Regions from separate parts of the Homo sapiens genome. Here all the other regions are linked to region 1. Evidence: promoter capture Hi-C in human tissues and cell types (Jung and others, 2019). All regions are on one chromosome and are shown on one strand. Each heading gives the region's core, a stretch centred on a gene start or on the middle of the fragment in contact. The rest is flanking DNA. Distances are from core to core; before and after follow the strand shown. Region 1 holds the start of TBR1 (T-box brain transcription factor 1). Region 2 has its middle 43 kb from the start of TBR1. Region 3 overlaps PSMD14 (proteasome 26S subunit, non-ATPase 14).

The links. Contacts are between HindIII fragments. The study calls those that stand out against the background at their distance.
Region 2: a contact is called between a fragment that was not itself captured here and the fragment with the promoter of TBR1 in region 1, in 1 of the 25 tissues and cell types used here (pancreas).
Region 3: a contact is called between a fragment that was not itself captured here and the fragment with the promoter of TBR1 in region 1, in 1 of the 25 tissues and cell types used here (H1 embryonic stem cells).

What each region holds. Positions count from the first base shown.
Region 1 is chr2:161,414,404-161,419,056 of GRCh38, reverse strand. It overlaps TBR1 (T-box brain transcription factor 1), which reads right to left and starts at 2,760. Exons shown (of 6, transcript NM_006593.4): 1 at 1,955-2,760; 2 at 1,227-1,381; 3 at 735-856; 4 at 7-165. The coding sequence starts at 2,646. RefSeq lists enhancers at 2,012-2,634, 4,396-4,545 and silencers at 4,056-4,105, 4,176-4,345. The HindIII fragment of the contact is 6,943 bases long and covers 1-4,653 here.
Region 2 is chr2:161,457,463-161,462,115 of GRCh38, reverse strand. No RefSeq gene overlaps it. Among named protein-coding and RNA genes, the nearest start is that of TBR1, 43 kb to the right of the region's middle. The HindIII fragment of the contact is 4,589 bases long and covers 119-4,653 here.
Region 3 is chr2:161,367,288-161,371,940 of GRCh38, reverse strand. It overlaps PSMD14 (proteasome 26S subunit, non-ATPase 14), which reads right to left. Exons shown (of 12, transcript NM_005805.6): 4 at 4,392-4,463; 5 at 4,038-4,157; 6 at 1,764-1,834; 7 at 619-769. Among named protein-coding and RNA genes, the nearest start is that of TBR1, 47 kb to the left of the region's middle. RefSeq lists an enhancer at 1-1,637. The HindIII fragment of the contact is 4,129 bases long and covers 301-4,429 here.

The DNA.
Region 1 (4,653 bases), core at 1,511-4,010:
CCTTACATCCGTGTTCTGGTAGGCGGTGACGGCGATGAACTGAGTCTCAGGGAAAGTGAACGTCTGCACGCGGCCGGGCTGGCTAGTGTCCTCCGTGCCGTCCTCGTTCACTTCCACCACATGCAGGCGGGGCTGGTACTTGTGCAAGGACTGTAAAACCACCATCTGTCCGGCGGGAAGAAAGGGGAGCGCCGGGTGGCGTGTTAACGCGGTCGCTGTGCGCGTGGCTGTGTGCGCCCGGCTGCGCGCCCGGGCCGGCGGAGGCAGCCTGCAGCCCGCCTTCCAGGCTAACTGACCGCGGGACTCGCCTGGCTGGCGGCTGGCTGGCTGGGGCAGACCGGCTTTCGCACCTCTGGGAGCGAAGATAAGCCGGGGCACCGGAAAAAAGGGGGAAGCCGACCGCCCGATCCTCAGGGCCCTTCTCCTAGTCCTCCTGTAAGGAGGAACAAAGATTTCCACAACCTGCAGATCTTGTGGGGTTTCTTCTCAAAATCAATCAGTATTAGTACTTGGGAAGGTCGGGCACTCCAAAATTGGGCCGACGGAGGTGTTGCCAATGAGAACAACTTTACAGATTTAATATAAATTTGGAGGGTGGAAATACAATTTTTAAGTCTTTTTAATGAAGCAAAGAAACGTGTATCCAGTTCCATATGCTGCTTTACACTGACGAACTGGATGTCAGGGAGGAAGGGGTGAGAGAGAGAGAAAACACGAGCGCTTGAGCCACTGACCTGCCCATTGTTATTTGAAGCTCCTTTGTTGTTCGTAAGTTTTAATTTTCCAAAAGAGATTTCTTGGCGCATCCAGTGAGCCCCAGTGTTGGGGGAATCCGGATGCATATAGACCCGATTTCCTAGAGAAAGAAATACATTGTTTACATATGCCCCTGGCACTGCCCAGTCCCAGCTCCTCACCACGTAGGACACACACACACACACACACACACACACACACACATACACACACCTTACTCCACCATGAAGCCCATTAACTGGGGCTTTTTTAGGCCATTCTTTCTTCCTATTAACTGGGGGTGATTAAAATAGCTTTTGCATAATCCTCCCCCTTCTCGCAGCTCAGTCTGTCCCCCTGTCCCCCTCGTTTCCTTTTAGAAGTCATTGGCCGATCGTTTTAAAAGTCGCTCGAGCCAGTCCACAAAGGCTTTAATTAATCATTCTCACCTAAATAAGTGTCAAGAAAATGTGTTAATTGGAAGGACTTGCCTTGCACATTGGTGTCCGCTTTGCCGCAAGGAACCCATTTGCCTCCTTGAAACCTCCAGTGATTGGGATCCGCCAAAATCACATCCACAAAAATATTGTAATGAGCCGTGGGATCGAGACCAGAAATGTTAAAACTTAAAAAAGGAAACATGCGCCTATTTAAATTAAGGGGTGGGGGGAGAAAACAAGGAAAAAAGAAACATAAATGTTAAAGATTAAATGCAAGAAGCGGGGCGCCAGTTAGCAAAGCAAAACTTGTACTTGCAGCAAATAGGCGAATATTTGCTGGATTAGAAAAAGGGTGGTGGGAGAAGAAAAGAAGTGCAACCCAAATCAGGGAGAGCGGCGGGTGAGCTGGAGTGGGAAGGTGGCAGTTATCACTGCCCAGGTGGAGAGCGAGGTTGGCGACCTGCGTCTCCACCTGTCCGTGCATGCCAGTGTTGATGCGTCCCTCCCATCGCCCAGCCGCTGGCCAGGGCTCTTCCTTTTTCTTGCCTTCCTCTGGCCACTGACTGGCTCTCCCACTATGTTCCTAGAACGGGGTCCCCCCCACCAACATCACCCTGGCGGTTATCCCTTCCACTTTCCCCCTTTCCAAAACTAGCCAACTCTAGGGCGCCTTCCACTCCGCTCCCGACCCCAAATCGTCGCTGCCGCGGCAGTCACAGCCTAGGTGCACTTGTCCCCGGCTGCGCCTAGAGCAGCGGCAGCCAAAAATGTAGTATTACCTTCCCTGTTTGGTGATGATCATCTCCGTTTGGTGCCGGTGAAATTTCAGCCAAAGGGGCCTGTTGCACAGGTACACCTGTGCTTTGCCGGGCACCAGCCCCGGCTGGGTGGAGGAGAACTGGTAGAACGGAGCTCCTTGGTAGGAGTGGCCGTACTGCTGTGGGTAGGGGTAGCCGGCCGTGGGGTATCCCTGCGGCGAGGAGTTGGACAGGAGGCTGTTGTAGGCTCCGTTGGTGATGACCGGGTGGTGGGCCATGTAGCGGCTAGGGCTGCCGATGGAGAAGGCGGGGTGCGCCGGTCCGTGCTGGCCGGGGTACGGGAACATGGCACTGGGAGCAGTGGCCGCAGACTGTGGCTGGCTGGACTGAGAGAGGAGGTAGCGATCTGCAGCAGAGCCATCGAAACTGTGACGAAGCTCAGAGACCCCGTCCAAGACAGGAGAGAGTTTACTTCTCTGGACGTCCCCTGGTGAGTCCTTGGAGTCAGGAAAATTGTCTGTATCTGACTGATTCGTCATCCCCCTGGTAATTTTTTTCAAAGGTGAACTTCTCTCCAGGTTGTCAGTGGTCGAGATAATGGGATGATCGTGCAAGACAAGCTCGGATCCGCCTGAATGTGGGTAGCTGCTGCTCACATTGAGAAATTTCTTGGAGAGCATGATAGAAGGAGAAAGGCAGTGCTCCAGCTGCATAGCTCTAGAACCTGAACACTCGCCCTCCCGTCCCTGGTTTTTAAAGTCCTATTTATCATAAACTAGAAATCCACAGACCCCCTCACTAGACAGAAAGCACTTCAACCAGCAAATGCTTCTCAAAGGTTTGATTTACTTTTTTTTTTCCCTGGGAGAAGAGATTGGCCAATTGACACTATGCAGCAATCAGAAAAGGCTCACTTTTGATCTTGCTGCTTGTGCAGCCGATGAAACGGCTCCTGCCATTGGTTAGCTGCTGACAGTAATTTAATTAGATAGACATTAATTAGGATAATCACCTGGCTCCTGGTAGCGACGATCATGGCAAATTGAAGGGGATGATTTTATTGTTGGCTTGGGGGGTGGGGAATGTGTGTTGGTTTACGTGAGCACTGTTGTGTCACCTTTAAGCTCTGTGACCACTGCTTTAGGAAGATTCAAAGATGTGGAATTTACTAAACATTTCCTACCTTCCCCCCCTTCCCCCCTTTAGAGCGGAGGGGCGGAGGAGGGAATTCGACGATGCTAGGAGACTTTTCGGATCTGAATGAGCCAAATATTCAGTTGAATGTAACGATTTCAAGTGCAAAGTATACAAAGCGCGAGCCGGTGGCCTCTTCTCGCCCTGTAAAAGTTCCAGAGTCTGTCTTTTCCAGCTAATACAAAAGCACACAACACCTGAGCTGGTGCTTTGTGAGCAGATCCTACATGTCCTCGGCGCCCCCACCCCCACCTTTTAAACTGCAAACATAAATAAATAAATCCCTGCTGCTGAGAGCCACAGCGACAAGCAGAAGGGGGGAGGAGAGGGGGCGAAAAGCAGCAACTCACCCACCAATCCACCCACCTCAGGAAGGTTCGGTTTCTTGGTTGAGTACAGAAACAGTGACAATCTATGATCTCCTTTTTAAGTTTTGAAATAATCATAAGCTGTCGGGCTGAAATGCCTTAATGTATTTGCAGTGATGTTTACCGGCTCTTTATTAAATATTTTATCAGCGCACTTGGTTGCAGATTATCTGAAGAACATCTAACTGGGGGCAGGCGCCATGCATCCTTCTCGTCCCTCTGCATTTCCTTCTCTCTGAGGTACTGGCTTGGCGACAGGTTCAAAAGCCTCGCCAGGAAAAGAGAGGGCCGAGTCCCCGTGCAAATGGGCTCGTCAGAAGCGCTGATCTGGGGAGACAGAGTGGAAGTGGTGTCAACACAGTAATCGCTACTGAAAACGTGTGTGTGTGTGTACGTGTGTGTGTTTAATGTTTATATAATCTGGAGGGGAGAAAAAGCATCCATGCCAATAATTTTTAAAAGGAAAAAGAATCTAAAGAGGAATAGAAAAAAACCAATTTAAAAAGATGTTGGCACAAATAAATAGCACGAGGCCCGAAGAGACCCCGAGGTGTAGGGAGGAAGTCTCCCAGCACCGGCTCTACAGAGGAGCCCAGCCCTCGGCCTGAGCCAGAGGGCCAAGAGCGGCAGAGGCTTTTTATCTGCCCAAAGCTGCCTCCCGCGGCCCGGCGCTCGCTGACCTGCCCTCCCGCGGCTTTCCTCCCGGACGCCGAGCCGCGCGGGAATGAGCAGGAGGAGCGCCGCCCAGAGCTCCGCTCGGCCCCGAGAGCTGGCCGGCCCGAGGGCGGGCTCCGCCCGGGAGACTGAAGGAGCAAGGGGTGAGCTGCGTCTGGCGCAGACCCCAGGGGCACACGCTCTTCCCGGGCTGGAGGAGCGGCCTGGGCACCTCAGCCGGGGGAGCCTCTGGCTTCGAGCGAGCGCGTCTGTCCTACCCGGGCCGGGGCAGCTCCCGGAGTGAGAGCAGCGCCTGGGGACATTGGGTGGGTCCTGAGCATGGGCGGAGACGGGTTATCCAGACTCGCCGCTTCGCCACTGTGGTGCATTTTCAGAGCTGCGCCTCGGTGGGCCGAGCGGTCAGCGCTGAGCCGAGACTGCGCCCCTCCAGGCGGGCTGAGCGCCTTGGCTGCAGAGGGCACCAGCTGCGGCCTCCATCAACGC
Region 2 (4,653 bases), core at 1,164-3,663, 43 kb before region 1:
CAGATTCCTCCTCTATGGGCAGGGCATCTCTGAGAGAAAGGCATCAGCCCCAGTCAGGGACTTATAGATAAAACTCCCGTCTCCCTGAGACAGAGCACCTGGGGGAAGGAGTAGCTATGGGAGCAGCTTCAGCAGACTTAAACGTTCTTGCCTGCCAACTCTGAAGAGAGCAGTGGATCTCCCATCACAGTGCTCAAGCTCTGCTAAGGGACAGACTGCCTCCTCAAGTGGGTCCCTGAAACCCATGCCTCCTGACTGGGAGACACCTCCCAGCAGGGGTCAACAGACACCTCATACAGGAGAGCTTGGGCTGGCATCTGGTGGGTACCCCTCTGGGACAAAGCTTCCAGAAGAAGTAGCAGGCAGCTATCTTTGCTGTTCTGCAGCCTCTACTGGTGATATCCAGGCAAACAGCATCTGGAGTGCACCTCCAGCAAACTCCAGCAGACCTGCAGAAGAGGGGCCTGACCATTACAAGGAAAACTAACAAACAGAAAGCAATAGCATCAATATTAACAAAAAGGACAACCACGCAAAAACCCTATCAGAAGGCCATCAACATCAAAGACTAAAGGTAGATAAATCCACGAAGATGAGGAAAAACCCATGCAAAAAGGCTGAAAATTGCAAAAACTAGAATGCCTCTTCTACAAAGGATCACAACTCCTTGCCAGCAAGGGAACAAAACTGGACAGAGAATGAGTTTGACGAATTGACAGAAGTAGGCTACAAAAGGTAAGTAATAGCAAACTCCTCCAAGCTAAAGGAGCATGTTCTAACCCAATGCAAAGAAGCCAAGAACCGTGATAAAAGGTTACAGGAACTGCTAACTAGAATAACCAATTTAGAGAAGAACATAACTGATGTGATGAAGCTGAAAAACACAGCACGAGAACTTTGTGAAGCATACAAAAGTATCAACAGCTGAATCAATCAATTGGAAGAAAAGTTATCAGAGACTGAAGATCAGCTTAATGAAATAAAGCACAAAGACAAGATTAGAGAAAACAGAATGAAAAGGAATGAACAAAGCCTCCAAGAAATATGGGACTATGTGAAAAGACCAAACCTACGTTTGATTGGTGCACCTGAAAGTGATGGGGAGAATGGAATCAAGTTGGAAAACACACTTCAGGGTATTATCCAGGAGAACTTCCCGAACCTAGCAAGACAGGCCAACATTCAAATTCAGGAAATATAGAGAACACCACAAAGATACTCCTCAAGAAGCTCAACCCCAAGATACATAATCATCAGATTTACCAAGGTTGAAATGAAGGAAAAAAATGTTAAGGGCAGCCAGAGAGAAATGTTGGGTTACCCACAAAGGGAAGCCCATCAGACTAAGAGCTAATCTATCTGCAGAAACCCTACAAGCCAGAAGAGAGTGGAGGCCAATATTCAACATTCTTATAGAAAAGAATTTTCAACCTAGAATTTCATATCCAGCCAAGCTAAGCTCCATAAGTTAAGGAGAAATAAAATCCTTTACAGACAAACAAATGCTGAGAGATTTTGTCACTACCAGGCCTGCCATACAAGAGCTCCTGAAGGAAGCACTAAATATGGAAAGGAAAAACCGGTATCAGCCACTGCAAAAACATACCAAAGTGTAAACGCTATTGACACTATGAATAAACTGCATCAACTAATATGCAAAAAAACCAGCTAGCATCATAATGACAGGATCAAATTCACAGATAACAATGTTAACCTTAAATGTCAATGGGCTAATGCCCCAATTAAACGACACAGACCAGAAATTGGATAAAGAGTCAAGACCCATCAGTGTGCTGTATTCAGGAGACCCATCTCATGTGAAAAGACACATATAGGCTCAAAATAAAGAGATGGAGGAACATTTACCAAGCAAATCAAAGTAAAATAAAGCAGGGGTTGCAATCCTAGTCTCTGATAAAACAGACTTTAAACCAACAAAGATCAAAAAAGACAAAGAAGGGCATTACATAATGGTAAAGGGATTGATGCAACAAGAAGAGCTAACTATCCTAAATATACATGCACCCAATACAGGAGCACCCAGATTCATAAAGTAAGTGCTTAGAGACCTACAAAGAAACTTAGACTCCCACACAATAATAGTGGGACCAAGTGGAACTAATAGACATCTACAGAACTTCTCCACTCCAAATCAACAGAATATACATTCTTCTCAGCACCACGTCGCACTCATTCTAAAACTGACCACATGATTGGAAGTAAAACACTCCTCAGCACATGCAAAAGAGTGGAAATCATAACTAACAGTTTCTCAGACCACAGTCCAATCAAATTAGAACTCAGGATTAAGAAACTCACTCAAAACCGCACAACTACATGGAAACGGAACACCTGAATGACTACTGGGTAAATAATGAAATGAAGGCAGAAATAAATAAGTTATTTGAAACCAAAGAGAACAAAGACACAACATACCAGATTCTCTGGGACACAACTAAAGCAGTGTTTAGAGGGAAATTTATTGCAAATTTCCCTCTAAAGCAGGAAAGATCTAAAATTGACACCCTAACATCACAATTAAAGAACAAGAGAAGGAAGAGCAAACAAATTCAAAAGCTAGCAGAAGACAAGAAATAACTAGGATCAGAGCAGAGCTGAAGGACATAGAGACATGAAAAACTCCTCAATAACTCAAAAAGTACAGGAGGTGGTTTTTGGAAAAGATTAATAAAATAGATAGACCACTAGCCAGACTAATAAAGAAGAGAAGAGAGAAGAATCAAATAGACACAATAAAAAATGATAAAGGGGACATCACCACTGATCCCACAGAAAAACAAACTACCATCAGAGAATACTTTAAACACCTCTGTGCAAATAAACTAGAAAATTTAGAAGAAATAGATAAATTCCTGGACACATACTCCCTCCCAAGACTAAACCAGGAGGAAGTCAAATCCCTGAATAGACCAATAACAAGTTCTAAAATTGAGGCAGTAATCAATAGCCTACCAACCAAAAAAAGCCCAAGGACCAGACGGACTCACAGCCAAATTCTACCAGAGGTACAGAGGAGCTGGTACCATTCCTTCTAAAACCATTCTAAACAATAGAAAAAGAGGAACTCCTCCCTAACTCATTTTATGAGGCCAGCATCATCCTGATACCAAAACCTAGCAGAGACACAACAAAAGAAGAAAATTTCAGGCCAATATCCCTGATGAACATCGATGTGAAAATCCTCAATAAAATATTGGCAAACCAAACCCAGCAGCACATTAAAAATCTTATTCACCATGATCAAGTCAGTTTCATCCTTAGGACATAAGGCTGGTGCAACATATGCAAATCAATAAACATAATCTATCACATAAATGGAACCAATGACAAAAACCACATGATTATATCAATAGATGCAGAAAAAGCCTTTGATAAAATTCAACACCCCTTCATGCTAAAAACACTCAATAAACTAGGTATTGATGGAACATATCTCAAAATAATAAGAGCTTTTTATAACAAACCCATAGCCAATATCATACTCAATGGGCAAAAGCTAGAAGCATTCCCTTTGAAAACTAACACAAGACAAGGATGCCCTCTCTCAGCACTCCTATTGAACATAGTATTGGAAGTTCTAGCCACAGCAATCAGGCAAGAGAAAGAAATAAAGCATATTCAATTAGGAAGAGAGGAAGTCAAATTATCTCTGTTTGCAGATGACATGCTTGTATATTTAGAAAACCCCATCATCTCAGTCCAAAAACTCCTTAAGCTGATGAGCAACTTCAGCAGTCTCAGGATACAAAATCAATGTGCAAAAATCTCAAGCATTCATATACACCAATAATAGACAGAGAGCCAAGTCATGAGTTAACTCCCATTAACAATTGCTACAAAGAGAATAAAATACCTAGGAATACAACTTACAAGGGGTGTGAAGGACCTCTTCAAGGAGAACTACAAACTACTGCTCAACGAAATGAGAGGACACAAACAAATGGAAAAACATTCCATGCTCATGGATAGGAAGAAACAATATTGTGAAAATGGCTATACCGCCCAAAGTAATTTATAGATTGAATGCTCTTCCTATCAAGCTACCATTGACTTTCTTCACAGAATTTTTTTAAAAACTACCTTAAATTTCATATGGAAGCCAAGAAGAGCCCATGTAGCCAAGACAATCCTAAGCAAAAAGAACAAAGCTGGAGGCATCACACTACCTAACTTCAAACTATACTGCAAGGCTACAGTAACCAAAACAGCATGGTACTGGTACCAAAACAGATATATAGACCAATGGAACAGAACCGAGGCCTCAGAAATAACATCACACATCTACAACCATCTGATCTTTGACAAAACTGACAAAAACAAGCAATGGGGAGAGGATTCCCTATTTAATAAATGGTGTTGGGAAAACTGGCTAGCCATATGCAGAAAACTGAAACTGGACCCCTTCCTTACACCTTATACAAAAATTAACTCAAGATGGATTAAAGATTTGAACATAAGACCTAAAACTATAAAAAAAATACCCTAAAAGAAAACCTAGACAATACCATTCATGACATAGGCATAGGCAAAGACTTCATGATTAAAACACCAAAAGCAATTGCAACAAAAGCCAAAATTGTCAGATGGGATCTAATTAAACTAAAGCACTTCTGCACAGCAAAAGAAAGTATC
Region 3 (4,653 bases), core at 1,116-3,615, 47 kb after region 1:
AAGAGAACTAAACAAGAACAAAAGGGGTTTCAACAAAGAACTATAACCCAATATGCTTTGCAAGTTAATCTGTTTTCAGAATTATTTAGCATATTTAATCATTCATTTGCGTCCTCACTCCAAAAACGTGAATGGTTGATACCAAGTCTTTGGGCAAGTTTTCATTGTCTAAAATATTTGGAAAACACACCTCCAGAATATGTCCTGCATAATGTCTGCAAAACAATGCCCTTTAAATAGATTTTTAAAATGTTGTGCCAATTCCAAATTCATCATTTGAAAATAAAGGTAAAGCAATGTTTATTTAAATATTAATAAAATGTTTATAGCAGGCTTTGAGTATGGTTTAACTTTCCTAATTTTATGAAATTCAAAAAATTTAAAGATAAATATTCAGGAAAATTACACAATAAGTGATTAAAGAAGAAATCTCTAAATAAATTGCTAATAATACCAAGACACAGTTATCAACTTGTACAGTTTTTTTGTTTTTTAAGTAAACAGACAGCAGCTTTCTGTGTAATTAAGAATCCTGCTTTGAACAAAATTGATTTTTATTTAATGTATCTGTAAACAGAATGTGGCAGTAGATGGCAATAAAGATAGAATCTACTCTACCTTTCCTTTTACACTCTGAATGGGATCCACAACCACTGCCACAGCTCTCTCCGACAAGGCTTCAAAGCTCTGCTGAGTGTTGATATCCACACCAGAAAGCCAACAACCAAAGCCAGGGTGACTGTGATACCAACCAACAACCATCTCCGGCCTGAAACAAAGAGGGCATTCAGATGCTCAGAACAGAACAAGTAATACATTTATGATATGAAAAGAAACAACACACTAACGGGGTATAAATTAAGAAGAGATGAAAAACACACAGGTGTGAAAAAGCACCATTAGAAACCCTGAAATTGTACACCATATTATCCAGAAAACATGGAAATGAATATGTGTGACAAAGGAGTGCTATCATTAAGAGATGCACATTAGCAGTGGTAGATAAGGCTTTCAGTTTTTCACCTTGTTACCACAGTTTCTCAGAGCCAGTTTTTACCCTTTCAGCATTCAAGTAAATATCTACTCTTTAACTCCTTAGCTCTGGGAGTTGGATTTTCCAGGCACAGAGTACATTTTTAACAATGGACACCAGGATCCACTGTTGTGAAAGGATTAAATATCAATTAAACCAGCAGTAGAACTAGGAACTCAGTCAAAAACCAATTTGCACTGTTCTGCTCAGCTGCTGAGCCTTTTGCTAACATTAATTTTGAAGTTGTTTCCACAGCAGAAGAATTTGAGCAAGAGAATGACAACTATTGAGAGATTTGGTCTGAGGAAAAAACTTTAGAATATTTGGATTATACTTTCTCTGTCTTTAAAACTATGCCTACAAACATAATTAAATATTCATAATCTCATTCAGTTGCAACTCTCAAATACATGGAACATACAAGCTCTTTCAATTATAAGTGACTAGACAGTAACTCCATATGCTAAACAGAGGGAAGCTACAGCCCAAGCTTACTATGTGACAGTCAAGAATTTTAACATGAGGCAGTTCTCTGATGGGCAAATTTCTCTGGTTCTAAAGGGAAGATATACTAGACAGGTGGTGCATGGCACTGATATTTACAGATACTTTTATGTCAATTACATAACCACTTTTTCTAGAAATGACATTGATAAACATCTATAACTTTGAGGTATGTTTCTATAAATATTTCCCATTATTTCTTTAACTGATCATTTAAAATGCTTACCTTCCTGTCTGCTTCAACATATCCAACATTTTAGCTTGGAACACTGGATCAACTGCCTCCACACTGACACCCTGATTTAGAAAGAAAGAAAAATTATTAATTTTTGTAAATTTGGAAAAAAAGCTTCCCTATGTATATTATTTGGGGTTGCCAAAATCATTTTATAGGTTTTGATACCTACATTTGATACCTACTCAAGTCATTCAATTATAAACCTCATACCAATCAAGCTTCTAAAATTGCCAACTACCAAACTGCTGTTGGCGATCGAGTTAAGCCCACTTTCAGGATTCTTTAAGAGTATATGGCCATTGCTGTGTATATGTTTACCAGAAATACGAAATAATTGAACCAACCATAACTATTGGTTAGACCTATTTAGGCAAGCATACTTCCTAATGCCATCCTATCATAACTGATGACTAAAATGAGCCTCATCCAAAGTTCTACAAATATTCAGCTATCATAATGAAACAGCCTCAAGTCTCTTACATACAGCATTATTTTGCTAGTTCAACCAAAATAAGATATTTGAACAGGAAGAATTAAAAGGTTCAGATCATCTCTCTGGCGATAGAGTACTGTCTTTATAGCTCCCAAGGCTTTCTTCTAACCTCAGGAATCTAAATCTAATGTACTTAAAGAAACTAGTTAACATAAGCACTTCCTTCCCACCAAAACAAACAGTATGCATATTGAATTCCAACAGAGAGTACATCCTCAAGAACAGGGGTATGCAATCTGCTGCTTATAGGCTAAGAATGTTTTCGGTTTTTTTCTTTCTTTTCATATATATACTTTAAAAGGACTGTCTTAAAAAAGAAGAAGAATATGCAACAGAGACATATGTCTTTATAGAAAAAGTTTACTGACTCTGGGGTCAGAAGAAAAACTTTCTAATTCTATGACACTAGAAAATAGAATTAGAGTGAATATAGGGATCAAAATCTTTTATTTTATATTGTCAAACAAGCATTTACATGGAAGTAATGATATTAAAGCCTAAGAACAATGTATTATAATGGGTATCTACATAAGTACCCATAACATATATAAGTTAGTTTTATGTGTTTCATGTAGCCTAATATAAAAAGACAGATACAAGTAATAAATAGTCTAAGATTTAAATCTAAACCTTTGGTTAACATGTAGAGTGTTTCTCTATTTCCAAATGTATAAAATAAATATAATGGATATCAAGATGGATAAAATCAGTAGATCCAAATTAGTTTACCTCAACAAATTCATCTATTTAGAGAAAACTTTACATTATTTTAAATATATTGCATTCTGTAGCAAATATTCTATTTTAAATGCTTATTTTTAATATACATACTATATATATTACAGTACTTAAAATTGTAATTTGTTCTCCAGCATCTACCTTATCAAAGTAAACTTACAGAACTTCGAATAGAACTAACAGCTTTATAACAACAATTTCTTTAATCCTTCTTTTACAAGGCTCAGTAAGAGAAATATTGCCTAGCAAAGAAGAAATATCGCTTGGAAAAATACATGCATATTTTTCTAAGCAAACAGGTGAGAAGGATATATGTGCTTTTTTTGGAAGGTAGATGGAATGGTTATTGTTTTTTGGCTATTTTCTTTCAGTCAAAATGCACATCTATCAACACAAGTCTAATGCATCAAACAAAAAGGCAAAACAAAACAAACATCTCTAGAAAGAATAATGTATTCTATACAGGTAATTTGTATGGAGTACGGTGCATATAAACAAAATACCATGCCTGGGAAAAAAATATTCAGGTTTGCTATTGTTTTGTTTTGCTTTAACTTAACATTTTAAATAAGAAAAGCTTAAAAAGTCATTCATCACCATATATAGAACATTTTTTAAATGACATATTTCAAAACAATGGGAACAAGACATAAGAACCAGTATATGTGAGTTGAAAATCTAAATTAAGAGAATCTCAAATCTTTTGAACACTTGGTTCAAAATCAAACTAACACTCTGCTATTATAGGGTAAGTAACTTTTAAATCCAGTATTTTACACCAGTTTAAGCCGAAGGACTGAGAAAAGAAATTTAGCATTAGCATCATTCAGTTTGTAGACCTATAAGAAGTTATGCTGCGTTTTAAAGATTAATGATTTAATTCAATACAATCTAAAAATTTCTATCAAACTTATGATTAATTTTTCCTACTGGAAAGAGAAAATGTAATATGATGAGAGTTAGTTTGCATAGGAAAAGAAAAATGAAAAGAAACACATTTACTTGCAGCAGGCAACCATAAAAGTACTCACTGTTCCTGACTGTGGCATAGCAAACACATCAATCACTCTGACGGTATAATCATCAACAAATTCTCCAAGCATCAAACCCATAACTTCCATTGGAACTCCAGCACGGCCATGTTTTAACATCTGTAGAAAGGAAGAGATGTGGACACAAAGCAAATTTCGTTGAGGTCTCTGGTTCTTCTTTATAAAACAAAAACCAAATTTTGTTCCAGTGAAAATAAAAACTCCTTTTATAAATGTACCTAAAACAATAGCTTATTTATGTCTGAGAGGATTAAGGTGACAAATATTCCAAAGTAAAAGATACAGTGAAAGCAACAGAGTTCTCTAAAGCAAGTAACTACATTCATTACCTACTTTTAACAGTGCCAGGGAAGAGATATAGACTTGTTCTGCTGTGTCCACTGCAGGAGCATCTGTAGGTGGCCCCTAGAAACAAATACATCAATTATTATTAAAACAAACACAGAGTTTATGAGTTTAAAATTCAAGTTACATGTGGTATAAACTTGATATTTTTAAAATAGTTTTGCAAAACATGTCAAGTATCCTTTTATTTGGCTATGACATAATCAAAACACATTTGCAAATATCAAACCTGTAGAAAACAGGTAAAACT